Regions from separate parts of the Homo sapiens genome. Here region 2 is linked to region 1. Evidence: promoter capture Hi-C in 16 types of primary human blood cells and fetal thymus (Javierre and others, 2016). All regions are on one chromosome and are shown on one strand. The core of a region is centred on a gene start or on the middle of the fragment in contact, and the rest is flanking DNA. Distances in the headings are between cores, read along the strand shown. Region 1 overlaps RABAC1 (Rab acceptor 1). Region 2 holds the start of LYPD4 (LY6/PLAUR domain containing 4).

Evidence for each region. Contacts are between HindIII fragments. The CHiCAGO score rates a contact against its expected background, and 5 or more counts as called.
Region 2: a contact is called between the fragment with the promoter of LYPD4 here and a fragment that was not itself captured in region 1, in 8 of 17 cell types (naive CD8 T cells, naive CD4 T cells, non-activated CD4 T cells and 5 more). The highest score is 8.2, in naive CD8 T cells.

Annotation. Positions count from the first base shown.
Region 1 is chr19:41,952,113-41,957,817 of GRCh38, forward strand. RABAC1 (Rab acceptor 1) reads right to left here. Exons shown (of 5, transcript NM_006423.3): 4 at 4,906-5,007; 5 at 4,571-4,822. The coding sequence ends at 4,734. Among named protein-coding and RNA genes, the nearest start is that of RABAC1, 4.4 kb to the right of the region's middle. The HindIII fragment of the contact is 6,931 bases long and covers 1-5,705 here.
Region 2 is chr19:41,842,107-41,847,811 of GRCh38, forward strand. LYPD4 (LY6/PLAUR domain containing 4) reads right to left here and starts at 2,577. Exons shown (of 5, transcript NM_173506.7): 1 at 1,472-2,577. It overlaps DMRTC2 (DMRT like family C2), which reads left to right and starts at 2,936. Exons shown (of 9, transcript NM_001040283.3): 1 at 2,936-2,995; 2 at 5,319-5,546; 3 at 5,630-5,705. The coding sequence starts at 5,323. The HindIII fragment of the contact is 15,469 bases long and covers 1-5,705 here.

The DNA of each region.
Region 1 (5,705 bases), core at 1,469-3,968:
TGCCCCGCCCCGCCCCTCCCCTGTCCCCGTTCCCCTCCCCTCCCCTTCCCCTCCCCTCCCCTTCCCCTCTCCTCCCCTCTTTTCCTTTTATTTTTCCCTTCCCTTTTCCCCTTCCTCTCCTTTCCTTTCCTCTTTCTTTTTTTTTTTTTTAGAGGGAGCCTCCCTCTGTTGCCCAGATTGCAGTGCAGTGGCGCGACCTTGGATCACTGCAACCTCCGCCCCCCAGGTTCAAGCGATTCTCCTGCCTCAGCCTCCCGAGTAGCTGGGATTACAGGTATGCACCACCATGCTGGGCTAATTTTTGTATTTTTAGTAGAGACAGGGTTTCGCCATGTTGACTAGGCTGATCTCGAACTCCTGACCTCAGGTGATCCACTCACCTCAGCCTCCCAAAGTGCTAGGATTACAGGCATGAGCCATCATGCCCGGGCTAACTTGCAATTTTCTATTTAATCCGCACACCCCCCGCCCCCGCCTTCTTTTTGAGACAGGGTCTCACTCTGTCACCCAGGCTGGAGTGCAGCGGTGATGCAATCTCGGCCCACTGCAGCCTTGACCTACTGGGCTCAAGCAATCCTCCCACCTCTGCCTCCCAAGTAGCTGGGACCACAGGCATGCGCCACCACACCTGGCTAATTTTTGTATTTTTTGTAGAGACAGGGTGTTGCCATGTTGCCCAGGCTGGTCTCGAAGTTCTGAGCTCATGCAGTCCACCCACCTTGGCTTCCCAAAGTGCTGGGATTATAGGCATGAGCCACCACACCCAGCAACTCTTGTTTGTTTGTTTTTAAAGAGATGGGGTATCTCTGTGTTGCCCAGGCTGAGTGCAGTGGCAGTCATGGCTCACTGTAGCATTGAACTCCTGGACTCAAGTTATCCTCCCACCTCAGCCTCCCAAGTAGCTGGGACTACAGGCCCACACTACCATGCCCAAATAACTGTTTAACTTTTTTGCAGAGATGGGGGTCTTGTTGTGTTATCCAGGCTGGTCTCAAACTCTTGGGCTCATGCAATCCTCCCACCTTGGTTTCCCAAGGTGTTAGGATTATACAGGCATGAGCCATGGTGCCCAGCCTTAATCATGTTTTTTTTCTTTTTTTTTTTTTTTGAGATCGAGTCTCGCTCTGTCACCCAGGCTGGAGTGCAGTGGCGCGATATTGGCTCACTGCAAGCTCCGCCTCCCAGGTTCACGCCATCCTCCCGCTGAGTAGCTGGGACTACAGGCGCCTGCCACCACGCCTGGCTAATTTTTTTGTATTTTTAGTAGAGACGGGGTTTCACCATGTTAGCCAGGGTGGTCTCGATCTCCTGACCTCGTGATCCGCCCACCTCAGCCTCCCAAAGCGCTGGGATTACAGGCGTGAGCCACTGCGCCCGGCCTCTTAATCGTGTTTTTAAAAGTAAAAAACAAAAGGTGAAATGAATAATAATTTAATCCACTATATCAATAAATTATCCTTCCAACACACATAATCAACATAAAAATTATTATTATTTTTGAGACAGAGTCTTTCTCTGTTACCCAGGCTGGAGTGCAGTGGCACAATCTTGGCTCACTGCAACCTCTGTGTCCCAGGTTCAAACAATTCTCCTGCCTTAACCTCCCAAGTAGCTGGGATTATAGGCATGTGCCACCATGCCAATTTTTTTTTTTTTTTTTTTGAGATGGAGTCCTGCTCTGTTGCCTAGGCTGGGGTGCAGTGGTGCGATCTTGGCTCACTGCAACCTCCGCCCCCTGGGTTCAAGCAATTCTCTGCCTCAGCCTCCCAAGTAGCTGGGATTACAGTGCACCGCCACCATGCCCGGCCAATTTTTTTGTATTTTTAGTAGAGACGGGGTCTCACCATCTTGGCCAGGCTGGTCTTGAACTCCTGACCTCGTGATCCACCTGCCTCGGCCTCCCAAAGTGCTGGGATTACAGGCGTAAGCCACCGCGCCAGGCCAATTTTTGTACTTTTAGTAGACACAGGGTTTCACCATATTGGCCAGGCTGGTCTAAAACTCCTGGCCTCAAGTGATCTGCCTGCCTCAGCCTCCCAATAGTGCTGGGATTACAGGTGTGAGCCACCATGCCCAGCCTATAAAAATTATTGAGATATTTTACTCCATTTTCATACTAAATCTTCGAAGTCTGGTGTGCATTTCACACTCATAGCATGTCTCAGTTTGGACCAGCCATGTTTGAGGCAGCCGCATATGGCTGGCCACCATATCTGACAGGAGAATTCCAGAACAGTGGGCATCAGTGGGCTCTGGGTGAGCACCTGCTGCATCAAGGATGAGTGGGTGAGTTCTGCTGAGGAGACACGAGGTTGGAGAGGCTGCATCCCTGAGGCCTTGGCACTCGCTGTCCCTCTCCTTGGGAAACTCCACCCACTTCTTGTGTCTCCTCAGAGAGCCCTCCCAGACCACCCCTATCTAAAGTAATTGGCGGGGCACGGTGGCTCACACATGTAATCCTAGCACTTTGGGAGGCCAAGACAGGTGGATCACCTGAGGTCAGGAGTTCGAGACCAGCCTGGGCAACACAGTGAAACCCTGTCTCTACCAAAAATACAAAAAAATCAGCCGGGCGTGGTGGCAGGCGCCTGTAATCCCAGCTACTCGGGAGGCTGAGGCAGGAGAATCACTTGAAACCGGGAGGTGGAGGTTGCAGTGAGTCGAGATCGCGCCATTGCACTCCAGCATGGGCAACAAGAGCGAAACTCCATCTCAAAAAAATTAAAAAATAAAACTAAAAATACAAAAATTAGTCAGGCGTGTTGGTGGGCACCTATAATCCCAGCTACCTGGGAGGCTGAGGCAGGAGAATAGCTTGAATCTTGGAAGTGGAGGTTACAGTGAGCCGAAATCACACCATTGCTCTCCAGCGTGGGCGACAGAGAGAGACTCCATCTCAAAAAAATAAACAAATAAATAAAAATAAAAAAATCAAGTCACTTCTTAGGCCCTCTCGGCCACCTCCCTTGTCTTCATCTGCCTGGCACTTTCCCTCCCAAGTGTGTTTCTCTTTTGTTACTGCTACCACGTGGCAGTCTCCACCTCATGATGAAAGGCAAACTGGACCCGGCACGGTGGCTCATGCCTGTAATCCCAGAACTTTGAGAGGCTGAGGCAGGAGGATTGCTTCAGCCCAGGAGTTTGAAACCAGGCCAGGCAACATAGTGAGACCCTGTCTAATGAAAAGTTAAAAAAAATTAGCTGGGTGTGGTGGCGTGCACCTGTGGTCCCAGCTGCTCAGGAGGCTGAGGTGGGAGGCTCACTTGAGCCCAAGAGGTAGATGCTGCAGTGAGCAGTGGTCACACCACTGCACTCCAGCCTGGGCCATAAAGTGAGACCCTGTCTCAAAAAAACAAAAGGCAAGAAGCAAACTGGGCTGGACACAGTGGCTCACACCAGTAGTCCCAGCACTATGGGAGGCTGCAGGGGGAGAATCGCTTGAGCCCAGGAATTTGAGACCAGCCTGGGAAACAAAGCAAAATCCATCTCACAAAAGCAAACTGTGTCTTTCATCTCAAGCAGAGTAAAACCCAAAGCCCTCACCGTGGCCCACAAGGCTCCCTGGCCTCCCACACTGTCCCCCTCGCTTATCTGCCCCAGCCACGCCCACCTCCTGGCTGCCCTCGAGCCTCCTGGCTGCTGCCATCTCCCAGGCTATGCCCCTGTGGCTTCCTCTGCCCCAATTATTCTTCCTCCAAAGGATCTGGGCTGCTCCCTCTCTCAATTTAGGTCTTTGGTGAATGTCACGTCAGGGAGGCCTTTTCTGGTCACCCTCTTTAACCCACAACTCATTCCCGAACTTTCTCTGTGCAGAAAAGAGTTAACCTGGCAGGCTCCACAACAGACTGCTGTCCTTAGACAGGCCTGGGTGCACAGTTGGTCCTTGGCTGGGAACTTGGGTGTTGGGGGGGGGGTCTTATCACTTCCTGATAGAGTGGCTCGCTGCATCTATCTAGGCTGTTCGTGCAGGCCTAGAGTGGCTTGCTGCATCTATCTAGGCTGTTCGTGCAGGCACAGGCCTTCTTTCTGGGAGCCTGGCATTTTGGTATATGTTGGAGAGAAGGTGCTCTTGTGGCCGCCCCCATGAAACCAAGGGCGCTGAGGCTAGGATCAGAGTGTCCCTGGCTGACATTTCACACGTCACCATGATCCACTGCTGGAGGAATTAGGTGTGGCCTCTGGAAGTGCATGCCTGGTTTCCCGAGTTCACTCCATGCACCTTTCCTTTTGGCTGACTTGGCTCCATACCCTTTGATGAGAGTAAATCAGAGCTGTGAGTGCAATTGCATACTGAGTCCCCAGTCCCAGAGAACCATCAAACCTGGGGTGCTCTCTGATTCCTGAGTCCTAAAGAACCATCAAACCTGGGGGTGGTCTCGGGGACCCCCGGCACACTGTCCTTCTCAACTCTTTTCTCCTCCTGAACACTCACCACCATTGGGCATCCCATAATATTTTACCTGTTTACCTTGTCATCGTCTTGCCCACACCCCAGGTTCCACCCCAACCCTGCTCTGTGCAGTATTCCCAGCTCCACCCATAGAGACCCACAGAAGATGCTGGGGGAATATTTCCTGAATGACACCCATAACAGCTTTATTTTCAAAGGCGGGATCCCTCCCCGGGCTTGTGATGGGACGGCGCTGTGGGCCCGAGCAGCAGAGCCGTGCAGGACAGGCATGGGCAGGGGTGGGGCAGCTGGCCCGGGAGGCCGGCAGGTCCCAGAAGACACCTCACACGGGTTCCATCTGCAGCTCCTCCCCGTCCACAGCCTCAATCTGGTGGAAGGCAGCGTGGGAGCCGATGACCACCAGGGTGGCTCCTGCAGGAAAGCCGGCAGCTCAGGGCCACACTCCTGCACCTGGCTCCCACCATCCACCCCAGCTGCTCAGACCCTGTACTCACCCAGCACCCAGAAGACGGCCGAGCCCGCACCAGCCAGCCAGAAGAAGGGGAAGGAGATGCCTCCAGCCAGAGCATACTGATGCGCTGGGCTCACCTCTCGGCCTGGGGGCAGATGGCATTGGGGTGCTGTTCCGACTCTCCATGCCCTCTCCCAGAGTAACCCCTGCTGCCCCCCAACAATCCGTACAAGCTCCAGGTTCTCGGGATCGAATCCAAACTCCTCATGCCAAGGCCCTCCAGGTCCTGGGGTCACCCTGTTCCCCTGCTGTCCCCACTGCCCTCCAGAACACAGCACACCGTCCTCGCCTGCCTCAGCCCCACCCTCTGCCCTCTGCCCCACATCCTCCAGGAAGTTCCTGGGATCCCGGCTTCCTGCTCCCTAGACTAGGGCTCTCCTGCTGCAACCCTCGCGCAGACCAGGGTCTCAAACTGGTGGCCCAAGGGCCAAATCTGACCTGTGGATGTGTTTTTTGAGCTGTTTTGCAAGGATGTGATTTGTGGCTGGCAAAGTGAACGATTTCACATAAAAATACCAACTTCAGGCTTCTCATAGAAGTCTCAGGGATGGGGTCTACATGCTCTGGTGACGGTGATCAGCTGAAGCCAAGTCGTGCCTGTGCTTCAGGCACTCCCTCCACCCCAGCCCATCAAGCACATAACTTGCAGGCCCCTGAAGAGCCTGGCCTTCAGGTCTACCTAACTGTCCAATCCCAACTCCCTGACCCCACTCCAAACCTTGATTTTCCCCTGGGGGGAATTTCCCCTGGCATTTTGTTTTCCCAGTGGTCCTTGGTACTACT
Region 2 (5,705 bases), core at 1,327-3,826, 110 kb before region 1:
AGCTGTGCTCACTGCAGCCCCCACCTGCCAGGCTCATGCAATCCTCTCACCTCGGCCACCCAAATAGCTGGGACTACAGGTGTGCGCCAACACACCCAGCTTTGTAGAGATGGAGTTTTTCCATGTTGCCCCAGCTGTTATCAAACTCCTGGGCTCAAGCAATCCACCCACCTCGGCCTCCCAAAGTGCTGGGATTACAGGCATGAGCTCCCATGCCCAGAGAATGCAGCATTATTGTGGTGATGGTAGGTTGAGACAATGGGAGCTTCCCTCTCTGAGACCAAGTGAATGCAAAACATGCTGGGGATGTACGCTATGGAATATCACGCAGGAGTTGGAAGAAGTTGATTAGATGTACACAGGATGTGAGGCAGGGTACAGTGGCTCACGCCTGTAATCCCAGCACTTCGGGAGGCTGAGGTGGGCGGATCACCTGAGGTCAGGAGTTCAAGACCAAGCTGGTCAACATGGCAAAATCCTGACTCTACTAAAAATACAAAAATTAGTCGAGTGTGGTGGTGGGAGCCTGTAATCCCAGCTACTCAAGAGGCTGTGGCAGCAGAAGAATTGCTTGAACCCAGGAGGTGGAGGGTGCAGTAAGCCAAGATCACACCATTGCACTCCAGCCTGGGCAATAAGAGTGAAACTCCGTCTAAACAAAAAAAAAAAAAAAAAAAAAAAAAAAAAAAAGTACACATCATGACAGAATGACAGAATGTGTACATGGATAGATTGTAAAATCACAGTGCTGATTATTACAAATAGTATATAACATAATATCACTTGCATAAATTAAAAACTCAAACAGAGGTCGGGTGTGGTCGTTCATGCCTGTGATCCCAGCACTTTGGGAGGCCAAGGCAGACAGATCACTTCAGGCCAGGAGTTCTGGACCAGCCTGGTTAATATGGCAAAACCCCATCGCTAAAAAAAAAAAAAAAAAAAAAAAAAAAAAAAAAAAAAAAAAAAAACCCCAACAACAACACTACACACATCCTGGGAGAACACACACACAAACCAAAAGATACATATTAACCACCTTAGAATGAGAATTGCCTATAAGAAGGTTAGGGAATGAAAGTGGGGAATTGGTGGAAAATAACAGTGTAGGAGGGGGTACAAAGATCACTGACCTTGGCCTCAGAGACCCAGGTTGGAATCTTTACCCCTTCATTTACTAGCTGTCCAATTTGTTGAACTCAGAGCCTACTACCTTCTTTATAAAATGAAGTATAATACATCTCATAGGGTCATTGTGAAGATCAATAAAATTATTACCATAAGTATTAGGCAAATGCTAAGCTCTTTATAATCGTTGGTTACCCTGTTCCTCTACCACTATCCCTCCCTCCCACACACACTTCCTCTCACTCTCTCTCCACTACCTAAAGGATCAAGTTCAACCTCTTTAGCTGGCCTTTAAGCCTCCCCCGACCACACCCCACCCCACCCCAGATAAGCGCCACCCAACCTTTCCAATTTTATCTAGGACAGCTCCCCTGCCCAGCAGTCCAGCTAGAGGTCACGTCGGCCACCCTTTTCTGCCTGCAATGCCTCAGACACACATGCTCTGTAACCCAGAAATCTGTGGCCAAGAAAGGTGCCAAGACCCGCAGAAAAGCTGGGACACAGGAAAGAGAAACGAAGGCTGACAACAGATCTCACGGGGGTGAGGGAGATTAGGCCAATCAGAGAAGACAGCACACGCCAGCCTCAGATGCAGAACAACTGGACCTGGACCTAACAAGCTGAGTACAAGTGGAGACGCAACCAGAAAAGATTGAAGTGAAATCCTCAAGCAAAAAAAAAAAAAAAAAAAAAAAAAAAAAGGATGGAGCAGTAGTCAGAGGGGATGCCACCCCTACAAAAGACAAACAAATTGATGGAATGGAACCTTGCAGGGAGAGAGAGGACCAGCAGAGAGAGGGAGGCGTAGGAAAATGAGGAGTGGGGCACAAAGGTGGGGCTCTCAGGGAGAAGAGGAGTCGATTTTAGAGGGGGAGAAGAAAAGGACACAGAGCTGGCTGTACAGAGAAAAGGGGCCAAGGCAGAGAAGATGGCGGGATGGTGTGAGACGGAGTTCACAGAAATACCCAGAGAAGGCGACGATTACACAGAGGAGCCCCCAGAGGGGCGAACTCTTGAGGAAGATGAACGCGGAGGGTGGAGCCAGCCAGAAATTCAGAAAAACTAGAGGCGTCCCCGGTAGCGAAGGAAGCCGGGAAGGGGCCAGGCTATCAGGGCATGAAGCACGGGAGAAAATGGGTCCGAAGAGGGAGAGCGTCCGAGAGAAAAGGAAAATCAGAGATTAGGAAAATCACAACCGACACAAAGACAAGAAGAGACACAAGGAAAGGGGTGCAATCTGAGGAAGGAGGGCCCGGTAAGCAACCCGGTAATCACAGCGCTGGGAGAGAACGCATAAAAGAAGGGTAGCTCAGGAGTTGTGGGGCACCGGAAGAGACATAACAGAAAACGCAGGCCTCCACTCAGCAAAAACAAGCCACGCGCGAAGTCGAGGTACAAGGCAAGGGAAGGCCAGAAACGAGGCAACCCGTGCACAGACCGGGCTTGGTCAACGCCCCAGGGGCGGGGCCAGGCGGGCCGTTCCTGGGGGGCGGGGCCAGCCTCGGTCCAATAAGGGGTACTCGACGCCCCATTGGCCACCTGCCTCGAAAGGGGGAAGACAGTCTGGGCGGGCAGGACGTGCGGAGGGAGAGGCAGCGGTGGCGCGAGGCTCAACTCGAAGCGCTATTGGTGGGACTGATAGTCTTGTGCGCCAAGAAGCTGGCAGAAGGGAAGGGGCGGGACATCAGTTCAGGATCTCAAACCGCATTGGTCGTCTGCCTCGGCTGAGAGAGGCGATGCTTGAAGTTCATTGGTCTTTGTGAGACAGGGTAAGAAAAGCAGCGCGAGCTTGGCGGTTCCTCTGGCCACTTTCTCACAGTGTCTTTGGGCGTCTTCTTGACTGAATCTGACTCCATTGGAGGCTGTGGTAACCGTGAACTAGCTGCACGAACACGGTCCCTCCTGCCTTTCCGTCCTCCTCCCTCTTAGCCGGACTCCCTAACCCAGGCATCCCCTCTCCTCCCCCTCGCGCCCCTCCCGCCCTCGCGCCCCCTCTCCCCTTCCCTGCCTCGCGGGCCCCTTGGCGCGTTCCCGGTTCCCCACTCGCTCCCTGGGGCACGGGAAGGGGGGAGGGGGACATGCATGAAATTAATTGTTGGTAGTGGCCACAGGAGCAGGAAGCGCTGGACACAGTGACTTCACATGTTTACACAAAAACCTGAATAAGGTGTGAGCGCAAGAGAGACATTAGTGCCCCAAGGAGAAGGTTTTTGGCCCAGATCAGGGCCTAGCACATGACAGGGGCTCAGTAACCATTTGTGGAATGAATGAAGGAGTGAAGGAAAATAACTTGAAAGTGGGGCAGGTGGCGGGTGCGGTGGCTCATGCCTGTAATCCCAACACTTTGGGAGGCCGAAGCAGGCAGGTCGCTTGAGGCAGGTCAGGAGTTCAAGACCAGCCTGGCCAACATGGTGAAACCCCATCTCTACTAAAAATACAAAAATTAGACGGGCGTGGTGGCACAGGCCTGTAATCCCAGGTACTCGGGAGGCTGAGGCAGGAGAATTGCTTGAACCCAGGAGGCGGAGGTTGCAGTGAGCCGGGATTGCACTACTGCACTACAGCCTGGGCTACAGAGTGAGACTCCATCTCAAAACAAAAAAAAAGAAAGAAAGAAAGTGGGACAGGGGAGCCAAGCATAGTGGCTCCAGCCTGTAGTCCCAGCTACTGGGGAGGCTGCGGCAGGAGGATTGCTTGAGCTCAGGAGGTGGAGGCTGCAGTGAGCCATGATCACGCCACTGCGCTCCAGCCTGGGCAACAGAGCGAGACCCTGTCAATAAAAAAAAAAAGAAAGTGGAGCAGGGAATCCATGAGAATAAGGTAATTATTGGGGGTGCAAGAGAGGGTTCTGATTTAAAGGGGTACAAGAACAAAATAAGACTAAAGGAATGCAAGGAGGCAGTTGCTTTGCAGGGCATAGATGAGACTAAGAATTGAAATTGAACTAAGAATTGAAAGGGGCATAAAACTACTGGTAGGCATTGGATGAATGCATGAGAGTGGGGTGAGCATTGTTGAAGAGGATGCCAGGAAACACTGTTGGGACGGAACAGGGTGCTTGTGAAAAGGGGATGTAGGACTCGCTGAAGGGGTATGTGAGGACATGAGTAGGTTGGAACCTAGGATGTGTGTGTGGGTGGGAAAGTGTTTGGATTGAAAGAAAAGAATGTTTGAATTGAAAGAATACAGAATGTCGGGCGCAGCAGCTCATGCCTCTGATCCTAGCACTGTGGGAGGCCAAGGCAGGAGGATCGCTTGAGCCCAGGAGTTCGAGACCAGACCAGCCTGGGAAACATAATGAGACCTTGTCTCTATAAAAATAAAAAACAATTAAAAAAAAATTTTTTTTTTGAGACAGAGTCTTGCTCCGTCACCCAGGCTAAAGTGCAGTGGCGCGATCATGGCTCACTGCCAGCTCTGCCTCCCGGGTTCACGCCATTCTCCTGCCTCAGCCTCTGGAGTAGCTGGGACTACAGGCACCCGCCACCACGCCCAGCTAATTTTTTGTATTTTTAGTAGAGACAGGGTTTCACTGTGTTAGCCAGGATGGTCTCGATCTCCTGACCTTGTGATCCACCCGCCTTGGCCTCCCAAAGTGCTGGGATTATAGGCTTGAGCCACCGCACCCGGCCTAAAAATTTTTAAATTAAAAAAAGGGGGGACGGGTGCAGTGGCTCATGGCTGTAATTCCAGCACTTTGGGAGGCCGAGACAGGCAGATCACTTGAGGCCAGGAGTTCGAGACCAGCCTGGCCAACATGGTGAAACACCATCTCTACTAAACATACAAAAATAAAAAAAAATAGCCGGGCATGGTGGCTCTTGCCTGTAATCCCAGCTACTCAGGAGGCTGAGGCAGGAGAATCGCTTGAACCCGGGAGGTGGAGGTTGCAGCAAGCCAAGATCGTGCCACTGCACTCCAGCCTGGGAGACAGAGTGAGACTCCATCTCAAAAAAAAAAAAAAAAAAAAAGAAAGAACACAGAAGAGGAAGAGGAGAGGGGTTTCTGAAGAAGGAAGATACCTGAGAAATGTCATGGGGTAAAGAGGGGAGAAAGCTGGGAAAGAAGCCAGAATCAGGGCGGGGTCTAAAGAGGGGCAGGATGGAGACCTGCAGGTGTGGTCTCCAGGGCAGGAGGGTTGTTAGGGGCAGGCCCACCTGGCTATGCTTACCTTCCACTCCTGCCCCTAGATCCATGGAACCCAGTGACATGCCTGCTGGCTACCACTGCCCCTTAGACTCTGCCCCCTGGGATGAGACCAGAGACCCCCAGAGCACAGAGCTGATCCCCAGGAGAGCCATCAGCCGCTCTCCAACCTGCGCCCGCTGCCGCAACCATGGTGTCACCGCCCATCTCAAGGGCCACAAGCGCCTCTGCCTCTTCCAGGCTTGCGAGTGTCACAAATGTGTCCTCATCCTGTGAGTATGAGGTCTGGGAGGGGAGGAGGATGAGCCTCCTCCAAAGGGTGGCTGACCTTTGACTTGCAACTCCCCACTTTTAGGGAGCGCCGCAGGGTCATGGCTGCCCAGGTGGCCTTGCGTAGGCAGCAGGAGGCGCAGCTAAAGAAGCACCTGATG